Regions from separate parts of the Homo sapiens genome. Here regions 1, 3, 4 and 5 are each linked to region 2. Evidence: promoter capture Hi-C in 16 types of primary human blood cells and fetal thymus (Javierre and others, 2016). All regions are on one chromosome and are shown on one strand. The core of a region is centred on a gene start or on the middle of the fragment in contact, and the rest is flanking DNA. Distances in the headings are between cores, read along the strand shown.

Region 1 (2,700 bases), core at 188-2,687, 610 kb before region 2:
TTCAAACCAGCAGCATGGAATGCTTACCCATTTGTTTGCATCATATGTGATTTCTTTCAGCAGTGTTTTGTAGTTTTTGTAGAGATCTTTCACCTCCTTGGTATTTGTTTGTTTGTTTCTATGTATTCCTAGGTATTTTGTTGTTGTTGATTCTATTGTAAATGGAATTGTGTTCTTGATTTGGCTCTCAGCTTGAACGTTATTGTTGTATGGAAATGCTACTGATTTTTGTACATTGACTTTGTATCTTGAAACTTTACTGAGTCATTTATTGGTTGTAGGAGCCCGTTTGCGGTCTTTAGGGTTTTCTAGGTATAGAATCACATAGTCAGTGAAGAGAGCTAGTTGGACTTATTTTTTTCCTATTTGGATGCCTTTTATTTCTTTCTCTTGTGCAATTGTTCTGACAAGGACTTCCAGTACTATGTTAAGTGAGAGTGGGCATCCTTGTCTTGTTCCAGCTCTCAAGGGGAATACTCTTAGCTTTTGCCTGTTCAGTATGATTGGCTGTGGGTTTGTCATAGATGGCTCTTATTATTTTGAGGTATGTTCCTTTGATGCCTAGTTTTTTTGAGGGTTTTTATCATAAGGGATGTTGGATTTTATCAAAAGCTTATTCTGTATCTATTGAGATGATCATAGGGTTTTTATTTTTAATTCTGTTTATGTGGTGAATCACATTTATTGATTTGTGTATGTTGAACCAACCTTGCATCACAAGAGTGAAGCTTGCTTAATCATGGTGAATTAACTTTTTGGTGTGCTGCTGGATTCGGCTTGCTAGTCGTGTGTTGAAGATTTTTACGTTTATGTTCATCAGGGATATTGGCCTGCAGTTTACTTGTTTTGTTGTGTTTTTGCCAGGTTTTGGTATCAAGGTGATGCTGGCTTCATAGAATGAGTTAGGGAGGAGTCCCCCCTCCTTGATTTTTTGGAGTAGGTTCAGGAAGACTGTTACCAGTTTTTCTTTGTATGTCTGGTAGAATTTGTGAATCCATCTGGTCTAGGGCCTTTTTTGGTTGGTAGGTATTTTATTACTTATTCAGTTTTGGAATTTGATATTGGTGTGTTTAGGGTTTCAGTTTCTTTCTAATTCAATCTTGGGGGGTTGTGATTTTTCAGGAATTTATCCATTTTCTCTAGATTTTTTAGTTTGTGTGTGTACAGGTGTTCATAATAGTCTTTGAGGATGTTTTGTATTTCTGTGGAATTGGTTGTAATGTCACTTTTGTCAATTCTGATTGCTTATTTGGATCTCCTTTCTTCTTAGTTTATCTATCTGGTGGTCTGTTAATCTCATATAACCTTTCAAAGAACCAACTTTTGGTTTCATTGATTCTTTTAATTTTTAATTCTTGGGGGTATATAGTAGGTGTATGTATTTAGGTGGTACGAGATACTTTGATAGAGGCATACAGTGCGTAATAATCATCTCGTGGTAAATGGGTTATTCATCCCCTCAAGCATTTATCCTTTGTTACAAGCAATCCAATTATACTCTTTTAGTTATTTTAAAATGTACAATTAAATTATTATTGACTATAGTCACCCTGTAGTGCTATCAAATACTAGGTCTTATTCTTTCTAACTGCTTTTTATACCCATTATCTGTCACTTCCTACCCCCCCTGCCCTCATCCCCTCCACTGCCCTTCTCAGCCTCTGGTAACCATCCTTCTCTCTGTCTCCATGAGTTCAATTGTTTTGATTTTTAGCTCTCACAAATAAGTGAGAACATACAATGTTTATCTTTCTGTGTCTGGCTTATTTCACTTAACATGACCTCCAGTTCCATCCATGTTGTTGTAAATGACAGGATCTCAGTCTTTTTATGGCTGAATAGTACTCCATGATGTATATGTATAATATTTTCTTTATCCATACGTTCATCTGTTGATGGACACTTACAGTGATGTTGAGAACTTTTTCATATGCCTCTTTACCAGTTATATGTTTTCTTTGGAGAAATGTCTAGTCAGATCTTTTGCCCATTTAAAAAATCAGAGTATTAGATTTTTTTTTTCCTGTAGAGTTGTTTGAGCTCCTTATATGTTCTGGTTATTAATCCCTTCTCAGATGGGTAGGCTGCAAATATTTTCTTCCATTCTGTAAGTCGTCTCTTTGTTGATTGTTTCCTTTGTTGCGCAAAAGCTTTTTAACTTGATGTGATCCTATTTGTCCATTTTTGCTTTGGTTGCCTGTGCTTGTGGGGTGTTATTCAATAGATTTTCTCCCAGACCAATGCTCTGGAGGGTTTTCCAAGTGTTTTCTTGTAGTAGTTTCATTGTTTCAGGTCTTCGATTTAAGTCTGTAATCCATTTTGGTTTGATTTTTGTATAAGGTGAGAGTTAGGGGTCTAGTTCCATTCTTCTATACATGGATATCTAGTTTTCCCAGCCCTGTTTATTGAAGAGACTGTCCTTTTCCCATTGCCAATGAATGTTCTTGGCACCTTTGTTGAAAATGAGTTTACTGTAGGTGTGTGGATTTGTTTCTGGATTCTCTGTTCTGTTCAATTGGTCTATTTCTATGTTTTTATGCCAGTACATGCTGTTTTGGTTACTGTAACTCTATAGTATAATTTGAAGTCAAGTAATAGGATTCCTCAGTTTTGTTCTTTTTTTTTTTTTTTTTGCCCAAGATTGCTTTAGCTATTCTGTGTCTTCTGTGGTTCCATATAAATTTTAGGATTGTTTTTTCT
Region 2 (2,819 bases), core at 253-2,752:
AAGAAAAGAAATGATCCCTCACCGAACCGAGCCTCAGTTCAGTGCGAAGGCTCTGATGATACTCTTTTTTTTTTTGAGACGGAGTCTCGTTCTGTTGCCCAGGCTGGAGTGCGGTGGCGCCATCTCGGCTCACCGCAACCCTTTCCTCCCCGGTTCAAGCGAATCTCCTGCTTCAACCTCCTGAGTAGCTGGGATTACAGGCGCGCGCCACCTCTCTTGGCTAATTTTTGTGTTTTTAGTAGAGACGGGGTTTCACCATGTTGGTCAGGCTGGTCTCGAACTCCTGACCTCGTGATCCACCCGCCTCGGCCTAAGAAAGTGCTGGGATTACAGGCGTGAGCCACCGGCCGCTGATGGTATTCTTTCCTGAGGGCAGATTTTCACGCCAGAAGCCCCGACAATTATACCTGAGCTGGTTCCACCTAAGCTCAATCCTCCTTCCCTGCCCCAAGGGGGTGAAAAATCTGGGCCCAGGAGGCCTTCCTTGTGCTCTGGGGGGAGGCATTTAAGGGTCCAAGGAAGACGTGACCGAAATGTAAAGCACTGGACGGCTTACCCAATAAGGGACCCAGCGTTTCTTATTACCCAACATCCCCCTGAGTCTGGCTTTTAGAAAAATATGCAAAGCGTCCGGGCGCAGTGGCTCACGCCTATGATCCCAGCACTTTGGAAGGCCGAGGCGGGCGCGGTCAGGAGTTTGAGACCAGCCTGGCCAATATGGTGAAACCCCGTCTCTACTAAAAATACAAAAATTAGCCGGGCATGGTGGCCCCCGCCTGTAGTCCCTCGGGAGGCTGAGGCAGGAGAATCGCTTGAACCTGGGAGGCGGAGGTGGCAGTGAGCTGAGATCGCACCATTGCACTCCAGCCAGCGCGACAGAACGAGACTCCGTCTCAAACAAAACAAAACAAAAAACAAACTACAAAATTAGCCGGGCATGGTGGCGTCTGCCTGTAGTCCCAGCTGCTTGGGAGGCTGAGGCAGGAGAATTGCTTGAACCCAGGAGGTGGAGGTTGCAGTGAGCCGAGATCGCACCATTAAACTCCAGCCTGGGCGACAAGAGGGAAATTCCGTCTCAGGGGAAAAAAAGAGAAAGAAAGAAAAAGAGGAAGAAAGAGAAAGAAAAATATGCAAAGCAACAAAAAAGAGAGCTAGAAAGATGGAAACAACTCAGAAGACCCTTGCTTAACCCGCGTGCGTCACGGGCTACAGGGGTCGGCCCCTCGAGCTAACCCCCACCGGCGCCTGCGCACTGGCCTGGCCCGCGGCAGGAAGCCCCGGCGTGAGACACTTTCGGATTCCGTGACAACGGCGGGATTAAACGTTTTTCTTCTCCTTTGCTACTGAACCTATGCTGTGACTTAGAACATAAGAAACTCCAAGAGGGTGTAGGGATTGTCTTAGCTGTCTCCCTCCTCCGCCGGCACCGCTGAAGGCAGCCCCTATGGAGGGCGCTAAACCTCGGGGCCCTGGGTTTCTATGACGACAAACAGGCGTTCCAGCAAAGGAGGAAGTGAGCGGATGCTGGGCGGGTACGCAATGTGTGGGTAGGATCGCGGGTGTCCCTTTCCCGTCATTTTAAACCAAGAAGCAGTGCGAGGCCTGCCCAACTCGCGAGTTTGTGGAACTGGCGCGCGAGAGCGCTGCCTGTGGGGAAGGTATGGTCCCCAGCCGAGCCGCCTGCAGCGAGTGTCCCCCACCAGGGGTGCCGGCGGTCTGCGGGGTCCGCCGAGCGGGTCCTTCCTGCCCTGCTCCTTGACCCCGACCTGACGGTCCACTAAGGCTTCTTAGTCGCTACACATAACCCCAGAACATAGAGGTCGCCCCGAAGAAGGAGAACCATGCTAGATGAATTCTAAACTGCGATCTGAACCTAAGTACTCAATAGTTGTCATCTTTTTTTTTTTTTTTAAATCTTTTTTCCTCTGCCTGCAGGACTATGTGGCAGCCTGCAAGTCCCAGTGCGGCGCTGATTTGTGTCTAAATTAGCTTTCCGGAGGACTATTTCAAATTACTAAAGAGATAGGAGGCATTGTTTATTATGTCTCTCCCGAAAACGCCCTCCACCCCGCTAAACTCTACATCAACATCTGAGAGCAAAAAGTTAAAAGTGTCTGTAGCCAAGGAAGGGACAAGAGGTAAACTTCGTTGATTCTGAAGTCATAAACAGTCATGGCCGTAAGACAGAAATCACCTTCCATTCACCGGTTTTTTAAATCTGATATTCAGAATACCTTGATTGGCTACATTTTTCTAACACACTTGCTTAAATAAAGCAAGAAGTCATTCCTTTTACAGTATTTTGAGTCAGAGTACTGTTTCACTACTCCATCTAAATACAGTTTATACTTTTTTTCAAATGTTGATTTATATATGATTTTAAATTCAACCTATTTTAAATATCAATAGTTACGTATTTTTTGGTTCCTGGTCTTTGGCTTTAAGGAACTTTGGAAAAAGTAATAGTGAGGCAGGGCGCGGTGGCTCACGCCTGTAATCCCAGCACTTTGGGAGGCCGAGGTGGGCGGATCACTTGAGGTCAGGAGTTCGAGACCAGCCTGGCCAAATATGATGAAATCCCGTCTCTACTAGAAATACAAAAATTAGCCGGGCATGGTGGCTCGCGCCTGTAGTCCCAGCTTACTCTGGAGGCTGAGGCAAGAGAATCGCTTGAACCCAGGAGGTGAGGTTGCAGTGAGCCAGGATCGAGCCATTGCATTCCAGTCTGGGAGACAAGAGCAAGACCCCATCTCAAAATAAATAAATAAATAGGCCGGGCACAGTGGCTCACACCTGTAATCCCATTTGGGAGGCTGAGG
Region 3 (2,884 bases), core at 185-2,684, 640 kb before region 2:
TCCAAGTGCTAATTCATTTAGTTGTTGTTTATTTGGGACTTGAAGCAACTAACATCTATGCGAAAACTTTCTGTATACATAATGCACTTCCCTCCTTTTTACCAATCATCTTCCTTTTTCTTTTCTTTTTTGGACTCTTGTCATTTGAAATATTGGGTGGGGGGGAACGCTTTTTTTCTTCTTTTGATTGCTCTACTTCTTCTAGTGATTTCGTCATGATTCAAGACTTTCTTTGAAAGTAAAATGGAATAAAAATGAAACACTACGAACTTTGTTGCCTATCCTCGCTGTTTTTCTTTTTGACTTAACTTTGCGTTGGGGTGCTTTAAAGTAACCCTATTTGAGAGAAGGAGGTTGAAGGGCATTCTAGCGTCCCCAACTAGAGTAAAAGGGCTATGACAGAAGGCAATCAAAGGAGGAAATAATTAGCAATCTTCAACGTTCAAGATTAATCAGTTCTGTTTAGCGGTTATTAAAGGGAAGAAAGAAACCAAATGGGAATAGTGAATTATTGGTCCTTTCATGTTTTACACTTAATGCTGGTACATAGTATTCTTTCCACATTCTACTGCACATTGCCTAGAGAAAGAACTGCAGATCATCAAATAATTATCCATTTCCAAATGGTCTAATGACAGCAGATACAAAGGCGGCTCACTTAAAACCTTCCGTTAACAGTCACACTGCATCAAATGGTGCTAGCTTTAAGTAGGCCACCCATTTAGTAGACTCTGAAACAACACCTTTCCGCCCAATTTCTGTCATTTGCTCCTTAAGTCAAGGGTAGTACCCTGCGTAACATCTTACAAAGGCCTACTTCTAACACTTCCCGAATCTTAATGTGTGAGGATGTTGATCACCATAATTTATGACCTTATCTAAGACAGTGGGGTGACTCTCCACATTGGGAGCCCCCTCATTTGTCCTCAGTGACTTCTAAAAACACCGCTGGCGTGGGCTGGATATTTGATCTTGGGGCCAAGTGCTTCCAGACTTTGTTCTCTGGCCTTAAAGGTGAAGAGCCCGGCGCTGAAGGCCACAGACATCACGGCGGATTTCACAGAGGGCCGCGTTCCGGGAGCGGGTGGCCAGGCGGTGGCGGACGCCCCACCTGTCCATCCTCCTACCCCTTCCCCCCCCCGTTGTTTGGCCGGTGGGAGCCCCTCCTTTCAGCAGGCGCCGGGCGGTGGGGTTGCGGATGGCTGCGCGCGCTGCGGGCACCGATCACCGGCGGCAGTTGGGCTCCGCGGGGCCGAAAAGCTGCGGGCGGGAAGCGCGAGGTTAAGACCCTGACGGCTGCAGCTCTCAGAGCCCCCGCGAGCGCGCTCCGTTGGTGCGCGCGCGCGCGCGGCTCCGCCCCGCCCGCTTGGCGCGCGCCCCCGCCAGGTCCGCTCTCGTCCCCCACCCCTGGCGCGGACGGGGTGGTTCCAGCTCACTCTCCTCCCCCGAGCGGCAGCGGCGGCGGCGGCGGCGGCTGCTGCGGGCGCTGAATGAGAGACGGTGACTGTTCGGGTCGACGAGTGCTACTCTAGGCGGCGGCGGCCGTGGCGGTGAAGCGTGAGGCCGGCATCGTCTTTCCGTCCTCTGAGGCGACGGCCGCGGCTGCACAGGTCGGTGGGCTCAGGCCGCGGGGCGGTGCGGGGGAGGGAGGGAGGGAGGGTGGGTACGCGGCGCCCCCCGGGCGGCGCGGGGAATGGCGGCGGCGGCGCTGCGGAGTGTGGCTCTCCCGGCCGCGGGCCCCGGGGCTGCTCGCCCTGCGCGCAGGGAGGGGGCTGCGGAGCTGGGGCTGAGGCTGAGGGAGAAGGGCGCTGGGCGGCGCGCCTCCCTCGGCCGCGGGTTCTCAGAGTCGGAGCGGCCGTGGGGTCCCCGCTCGGGGGCGCCGTCCTGAAGCCGGGGGCGCTGCGACCCCTTGAACCCGCCTCGCTCTCCCTCTTGGGTGGCGGAAGCCCCCAGCCTCCGCCCGCTCTGTTCTGGCGCCCAGCGGCGCCTCAGTCTTCCTTCAGGTGAGCCCGATCCCGGACCTCGGAGCCAGGACCAGCAGAAGCCGGGCCACACCCCCTCCCCTGGCCCTGGCGGCTGCGCCCAGAAGCCTGGCCGCAGAGTTGGCCGCCCGCGAACCCGCGGAGTCGCGGTCAGGGTGACCTGTTGCAGAGCGGCCCGCAGCCCGAGCGGCCCCCGCCAGCCCCGGCCCCGGAGGGGCTGCGTCCTGTGCTGGCCTCGGGCCGGGCGCGCGGGCCGGGTGTGGGGCAGGGGCCGCAGCCCCAGGTCGGCTTGCTCTACGGCCTGGAACCGGGCTCTAGAAAAAAAAGGAGATTCCGAACGTATCTCATCAAACACTTGCAAAGCCGGGAGATCTGTCTGCAAATATCCGGAATTCCATTGCAGTATCGGATTAGGTAGGCTCATAAACACCGTGCTTTTGAGGTGATTTGGAAGAAACGCGAGCCACGAGCGAGGAACTAGTTTCTGGAAAATAGCCGTAAACCTGTGCGGAGCGAATTATTAACCCCCCGCCCCAGCTCCCCCCTCGAAGCTCTTTTCCTGTAGCTGTGTGTTGTGTAGACGCAAGCCAGTTTCAGTGTACGTGGGCGTGTTTGGGAAGAAGCTGCGAGCTGATAGGAGGTACCTAGTACAAATGTTAATTTGTTTGAGTTGGGAGGGGTAAGGGAGGAGGAAGAAAGGGCACTGATGTTAGCTGTGGAGGAGGGGCAATTGAAATACTAAATTTCTGTTAAAAAAAAAAAACCCCAAAAGAAATATCTAATGCCTACTGTGTATTTAAGACCATAAAGTGGAATCACACAAGCAGCAGTTAATTGAGCTTTATCGTTTATGCTCCCTGGATTTTTTTTCCCCAACACTTTAGTTGCTATAGAGAGCCTTT
Region 4 (2,700 bases), core at 9-2,508, 590 kb before region 2:
TGACTCCTGGCTAACACGGTGAAACCCCATCTCTACTAAAAATACAAAAAATTAGCCGGGCGTGGTGGCGGGCGCCTGTAGTCCCAGCTACTCAGGAGGCTGAGGCAGGAGAATGGTGTGAACCCGGGAGATGGAGCTTGCAGTGAGCCAAGATCCCGCCACTGCACTCCAGCCTGGGCGACAGAGCAAGACTCCGTCTCAAAAAAAAAAAAAATACTATTGACATGTACATTTGTAAATAGTTACGAAAAGTTTATATTCTTTAAGGTATGCTTTGCTATATTTTAAAATATGTAATGGATTTTAATGTGACCTTAATTTTCATGAAATACATGGGTGACAATTTATTTTAAAAGCAGAGAAGGCCAGGTGCAGTGGCTGACGCCTGTAATCCCAGCACTTTGGGAGGCCAAGGCCTGCAGATCACCTGAGGTTAAGAGTTCGAGACCAGCCTGGCCAACATGGTGAAACCCTGTCTCTACAGCCTGACCAACATGGTGAAACCCTGTCTCTACTAAAAATACCCAAAATTAGCTGGGTGTGGTGGCTTGTGCCTATAATCCCAGCTACTCAGGAGGCTGAGGCTGGAGAATTGCTTGAACCTGGGAGGCGGAGGTTGCAGTGAGCTGAGATCATGCCATTGCATGCCAGCCTGGGCAACAAGCAAAACTCTGTCTCAAAAAAAAAAATAAAAGGAGAGAAAATGTGATTCTTCATGCTTATAGTTTACAAATATTTTAATATTGTTCCTGGTCTGTATTACATTTTTTTAAGTAAAAGTAATAAATTGTATATTTTGATATGTAAAGTAAGTTAAAGATATAACTCCTTTACCTATTAAATTAAAATCTTTTTCTTAGCACTAGGGGGCACCCCTGATTTATAAATTCATGTTATACTTAATGTTGCCTAGAAAGTGGAATGAAATGTAATTATTTGAAAAATATTTTGCAAACTGAGTGCTATGTTCAAAGAGAATCTGGATTATCAGCTGGTTTTGTTGCATAGCAGTATAAATATAAGTTGATTCTTAATACTATAAGGATAATGAAGCTTATAGAATAAGATAGTTTAGATGGGAGGAAATTGTTTTGTAGTTTATTCATTTTCACGTTGATTTTCTAAGTAGGTGCGTTAAATGGTTTTAAAACTTCATGATTTTGAATATATTTCTGTTTTAAAAATCCTAGCACGATGTTCTGCTCTTAGCAGGTACCTAGGCTGTATCTGAATAAATTAAGATAAATTCAAGATGTGACTGAAGGCTGCTATCATTAGTAATAATTTTTAAGCATTTCAAAACCAAGAGCATGTTTTACTACTTCTAGGAAACAGATCTTAGCCATTCTCATTCATTGTGTTTGCAATTAGGATTTTTAGTAATGCCCAGCAACAATTGCTTCCCAAAGGTGTATTTCTAAGGTTTTGTCTTTTCTTTTTTATTTAAGAGACTCTGTTGAATTTAAGCTTTATGGGAATTAAGCAGATAGTAACATCTGCATCATCATTACATCATAGTAATAGCATATTTACCATGTGCCAACACTGTTTTAGGTGCTTTGTGTATATTATCTCATTTCGCTTCACCACAACTCTATGAAGTAGGTACTTATTATCCCTATTTTATAGATGAGAAAACTGAGTACAGAAAAGTTAAAATTTCCTGGGTTTACACAGAGGTAATGTGGTTCCAAAATTTGTGCTTTTAAATCACTATATCCTATATTGCTTCTCCAGAGAAAGGAAACTTAGCATTGAAGTAATTATTATTAACATTTAAAACTCAGCTTTTAAAGTGAATGTAGCATAGAGTACCTAATTTATAGACACTTACCATTTCTCTTATGAAAAACGTCATAGATCTTTAAAGTTGAAAAGGGATCTTAAAGTTCATTTACCACTGTCATTTTACAAAGAGGAAGAAATTCTGTCCTAGAGGTAAAGTTACCTACTCAGTTTATATGACAGGTTATTTATGGAAAGGTATTAGAACTTCAAGTAAGTACTCTGACTTCCAGTAAAGTGGAAAATCTGTGTTGTGAAAAGAATATTTGACTAGAATTTTGATGGCTTGAAACTTGTTCTTGGCTCCTTATTTACCATCCTGTGTCCTCAGAAGCTCTGTGTTTGTTTGTTATGTGGGTATATCTTCCCTAATTAGTGTTATTGGTAGTTGTGCAAATCAACATAATGTATTAAAGATATTTAATAAACTTTAAAGTCCTATACAAATAAACATAGTGTATATTATGGTACAGTAAAGCCACCATATCCATGGGTTCTACATCTGGATTCAAACAAATCTGAGTTGAAAATACTTGGGGCAAAAAAAAAAAAAAAAGGATGGTTGCATCTGTACTGAACATGTACAGACTTTTCCTTGCTATAATTCCCTAAAAAATACAATATAACAACAATTTACGTAGCATTGGCACTGTATTAAGTATTATGAGTAATCCGGAGATGATTTAAAGTATACAAGAGGATGTGTATAGGTGATATGCAAATACTGCACCATTATATAAGGGCCTTAAGCATCGGTGGATTTTGGTATCTATAGTAGATCCTGGAACAAATCCCCCATGGATACTGAGAGATGATTGTATTTTTATGACATGTAGTTCATAATATTTTAAGTATTTGTGATATGTTGGTAATCTAGATCACTAGCTGTGATAAGCTTATTCAGTATTGTTGATT
Region 5 (2,849 bases), core at 90-2,589, 820 kb before region 2:
CTCCAGGTGGCAGCCAGAGTGATCTTACAAAACCGTAGGTCAGGTCATTGCCCCCTGTCAGACTCAAGCCCATCACAGCCCTTGCTATGCTGACAGGCCCATCCCACCCCAGCCCGCTCCCCCCACCACCTGCCCCCCTCCGCCACCTCACCTGTGCCTTCTGCACGCCTCTCCCACCACTCCCCCTCCCTCCCTTTACTCTGGCCACTCTGAATGTCACTGGTCCTCCTTGAGCCCTCCTGAGCCCTCTGCCCAGAGTAATGCCAGAGTGGAGGCCACAGCTGAAGGCAGAGGCTGTTGGCCTGGGGTGGAGAGGGGAGATTCCTCTGGGTGGAAGGTGACATTGGGCAGCCTTGGATGAAGTGAATACCTGGTGTGGGGAAGCAAAAATAAATAGAGAAACAAACGGATTAATTTTGCTTCTTTCCAGGGACTTGATTTTCTACAAGTGCTGCTCCAAGAGGCTTCTACACCCCCGCAGGGAGGCAAGCACCGTTTTGAGGTGGCCGGGCTGGCGAGGAGGTGCAGACCCCAGCCAGCTGGAGGGGCTCTGCCCTGATGGCGTTCCCACTCCCACCTCATTCGCAGGGCGCCGGGGAGGGCTGCAGGTGTTCTATTCCCACCCGGCTTGCAGCGCAAGGAGGGGAATCGCCTGACACCTTCCCCTTCTCCTCTGCCCCGCTTCCTTTCTCTGCTCCCACAGGTGGAAGTCACCAGCGGAAACAACCCTTCACTGTATGGAGGGCTGGGAGAGAGGGGCCAAGAGGGCCCCGGGAGAGCCACTGGGCGGCAGGCAAGGGGCGGGGCAGTCTCCCTTCCGGCTTCCGGGACCGAAGGGTGAAGGGCAAGGGGAGCTCAGGGAATGAACGAGTGCTCCCGACTAATGTTTAACCCACGACTCCGAGACTCCGACTGGTCACAGTCCTGCAGACCTCCAGGTCCTGCACAGGCGACGCAGCGCTCCACTGGCCCGGAATGCGCACCCCGGGGGAAATGGAAAGTGCCATTGAAATGTCAGATGTCACCGTCTTCATCAGCACTCTTGGAATTTTGGCCAAAGTGGCTTCTTCTTTTGCTGAGACTTGACTCACTCCCGGCAGAGGGATGATAGCGGCCTTGCCCCGAGCGTTTATCCGGCTGCAGGCGTCATTCTTGGTCGCCTGTGTGTCCAGAGCCCCAGCGCAGGAAGGGAGCGCAATTCCCACCGCGCCCGCTGGGTGGCGCTAGCGCCGCACCGTGTCCCGGGATGAGGGGAAACCGCGCTGCCCAGTCAGTACCCCGACGCCCCCGCGCCCCCGCCGGGCCCCGCGCGCTGCAGCCACCGCCTCTTCTCGGCTTCCTCTTGCTTTACAGTAACTCTCCTCCTGGGGAAAAGGCTTTTCACGGAGCAGGCTCGGAGCCTACGGGGCTGGCCTCGGACTGGATGGGGGTAAGGACGGGTGGCGGCGCTCGCGCCGAGCGAACGGAGGGCTCAGGCGGCCGGTGATCAGGGACGGGCTGCGGCCGCCGTCTGGGGTGAGAGGCCCACCCAGAGCTCTGGGCCAGGGCTCGCGGCTCTCGTGCAGATGCTGGGCCGGGAGGTGTGGGGAGGGGGCTTCCCAGGCGGGGCAACCGGAGGGGAATGGGGTGTGCAGGAGGGAGGGGAGGCGTGGAGCGCCCGGCCTGCAGGCACTGGGCGGCGCTCTCCAGCCTCCTCTTCTCCCGCCGGGTGCCTGGTGGCTTGGCCTCCCCTCCAGAGCTTCGCATATCCTGGCGGGAGCCGGCGCTCTCTCTCCATACTTAGGACTTGACCCTTATTCCACACCCGGGCAGGGAATCATTTGCCCAATCCGAATTTGATTTTCTGCTTGTGAGAGGAGAAACTGGTGACAGTGTCGCATGGACACTGTCGGGGAAGCCGAGACGTAGACCTGGAAGCCTGTACCAGAGGCCTTGTGGACAGCTTTGGAGCATGCATCTTAAGGCACACCACCGGTTTCTGCTGCTTTGGCACAGCCACGCAGCACCTAGGATGCTTCTCTGCACGCAGCAGAGGCCTAATCCGTGCACCCTCTGACGGTGTTGGAGGGAGCTGGGGAGCAACATCAGATTAATAGCCCCTGGGCTATTTGTATGACGTGCAGATTTCACCCTCTCATTCTTAAAGGGTGAAAGGCTGCAATTCAGAAAGGCGAAGATGGGGCCCAGGAATCTGCAATCTGCGTGGGGTTTTTTTTTTTTTTATGAAGTCTTGTTCTGTCGCTCAGGTTGGGGTGCAGTGGCGCGATCTGTGCTCACCGCAACCTGTCTTCCAGGTTCAAGCGATTATCCTGCCTCAGCCTTCTGAGTAGCTGGGACTACAGGTGCATGACACCACACCTGGCTAATTTTTGTATTTTTAGTAGAGATGGGGTTTCACCATGTTCGCCAGGCTGGTCTTGAACTCCTGACCTCAAGTGATACGCCCACCTTGGCCTCCCAACGTGCTGGGATTACAGGCATGAGCCACCGCGCCTGGCCAGAGTTTGCATTTTGTTGTTGTCGTTTGTTTGTTTGAGACGGAGTCTCGCTCTGTGGCCCAGGCTGGAGTGCAGTGGCGCCATCTCGACTCACTGCAACCTCTGCTTCCCAGGTTCAAGCGATTCTCCTGCCTCAATCTCCCAAGTAGCGGGGATTAACAGGCGTGCCACCACCATGCCTGGCTAAATTTTTTATTCTTAGTAGAGACAGGGTTTCTCACGTTGGGCAGGCTGGTCTCAAGCTCCTGATCTGCCCGCCTTGGCCTCCCAGAGTGCTGGGATTACAGGTGTGAGCCACCGCGCCTGGCCTGTTTTGTTTTCCTAAATCCAGAAGTTCTGATTCAAGCCTAA

Evidence for each region. Contacts are between HindIII fragments. The CHiCAGO score rates a contact against its expected background, and 5 or more counts as called.
Region 1: a contact is called between a fragment that was not itself captured here and the fragment with the promoter of AXDND1 in region 2, in 1 of 17 cell types (naive CD4 T cells). The highest score is 5.2, in naive CD4 T cells.
Region 3: the fragment with the promoter of RALGPS2 here is called in contact with the fragment with the promoter of AXDND1 in region 2 in 13 of 17 cell types (fetal thymus, naive CD4 T cells, naive CD8 T cells and 10 more); the score reaches 18.9 in fetal thymus.
Region 4: a contact is called between a fragment that was not itself captured here and the fragment with the promoter of AXDND1 in region 2, in 12 of 17 cell types (naive CD4 T cells, total CD8 T cells, naive CD8 T cells and 9 more). The highest score is 15.9, in naive CD4 T cells.
Region 5: the fragment with the promoter of C1orf220 here is called in contact with the fragment with the promoter of AXDND1 in region 2 in 7 of 17 cell types (naive CD8 T cells, erythroblasts, total CD4 T cells and 4 more); the score reaches 9.2 in naive CD8 T cells.

Annotation. Positions count from the first base shown.
Region 1 is chr1:178,756,912-178,759,611 of GRCh38, forward strand. All of the region lies in intron 1 of RALGPS2 (Ral GEF with PH domain and SH3 binding motif 2), which reads left to right. Among named protein-coding and RNA genes, the nearest start is that of RALGPS2-AS1, 32 kb to the left of the region's middle. The HindIII fragment of the contact is 1,422 bases long and covers 727-2,148 here.
Region 2 is chr1:179,364,469-179,367,287 of GRCh38, forward strand. It overlaps AXDND1 (axonemal dynein light chain domain containing 1), which reads left to right and starts at 1,503. Exons shown (of 26, transcript NM_144696.6): 1 at 1,503-1,532; 2 at 1,936-2,138. The coding sequence starts at 2,042. RefSeq lists enhancers at 1,054-1,453, 1,834-1,903. The HindIII fragment of the contact is 9,843 bases long and covers 1-2,819 here.
Region 3 is chr1:178,723,810-178,726,693 of GRCh38, forward strand. It overlaps RALGPS2 (Ral GEF with PH domain and SH3 binding motif 2), which reads left to right and starts at 1,435. Exons shown (of 20, transcript NM_152663.5): 1 at 1,435-1,610. It overlaps RALGPS2-AS1 (RALGPS2 antisense RNA 1), which reads right to left and starts at 2,475. Exons shown (of 1, transcript NR_187252.1): 1 at 1-2,475. RefSeq lists silencers at 1,209-1,363, 1,265-1,434, 1,695-1,814, 2,015-2,244 and an enhancer at 1,785-2,374. The HindIII fragment of the contact is 4,509 bases long and covers 1-2,884 here.
Region 4 is chr1:178,773,596-178,776,295 of GRCh38, forward strand. All of the region lies in intron 1 of RALGPS2 (Ral GEF with PH domain and SH3 binding motif 2), which reads left to right. Among named protein-coding and RNA genes, the nearest start is that of RALGPS2-AS1, 49 kb to the left of the region's middle. The HindIII fragment of the contact is 414 bases long and covers 1,052-1,465 here.
Region 5 is chr1:178,541,457-178,544,305 of GRCh38, forward strand. C1orf220 (chromosome 1 putative open reading frame 220) reads left to right here and starts at 1,340. Exons shown (of 3, transcript NR_033186.1): 1 at 1,340-1,429. It overlaps LOC124904460 (a long non-coding RNA gene), which reads right to left and starts at 1,189. Exons shown (of 2, transcript XR_007066748.1): 1 at 578-1,189; 2 at 1-370. RefSeq lists an enhancer at 1,035-1,094 and silencers at 1,145-1,474, 1,505-1,574. The HindIII fragment of the contact is 17,585 bases long and covers 1-2,849 here.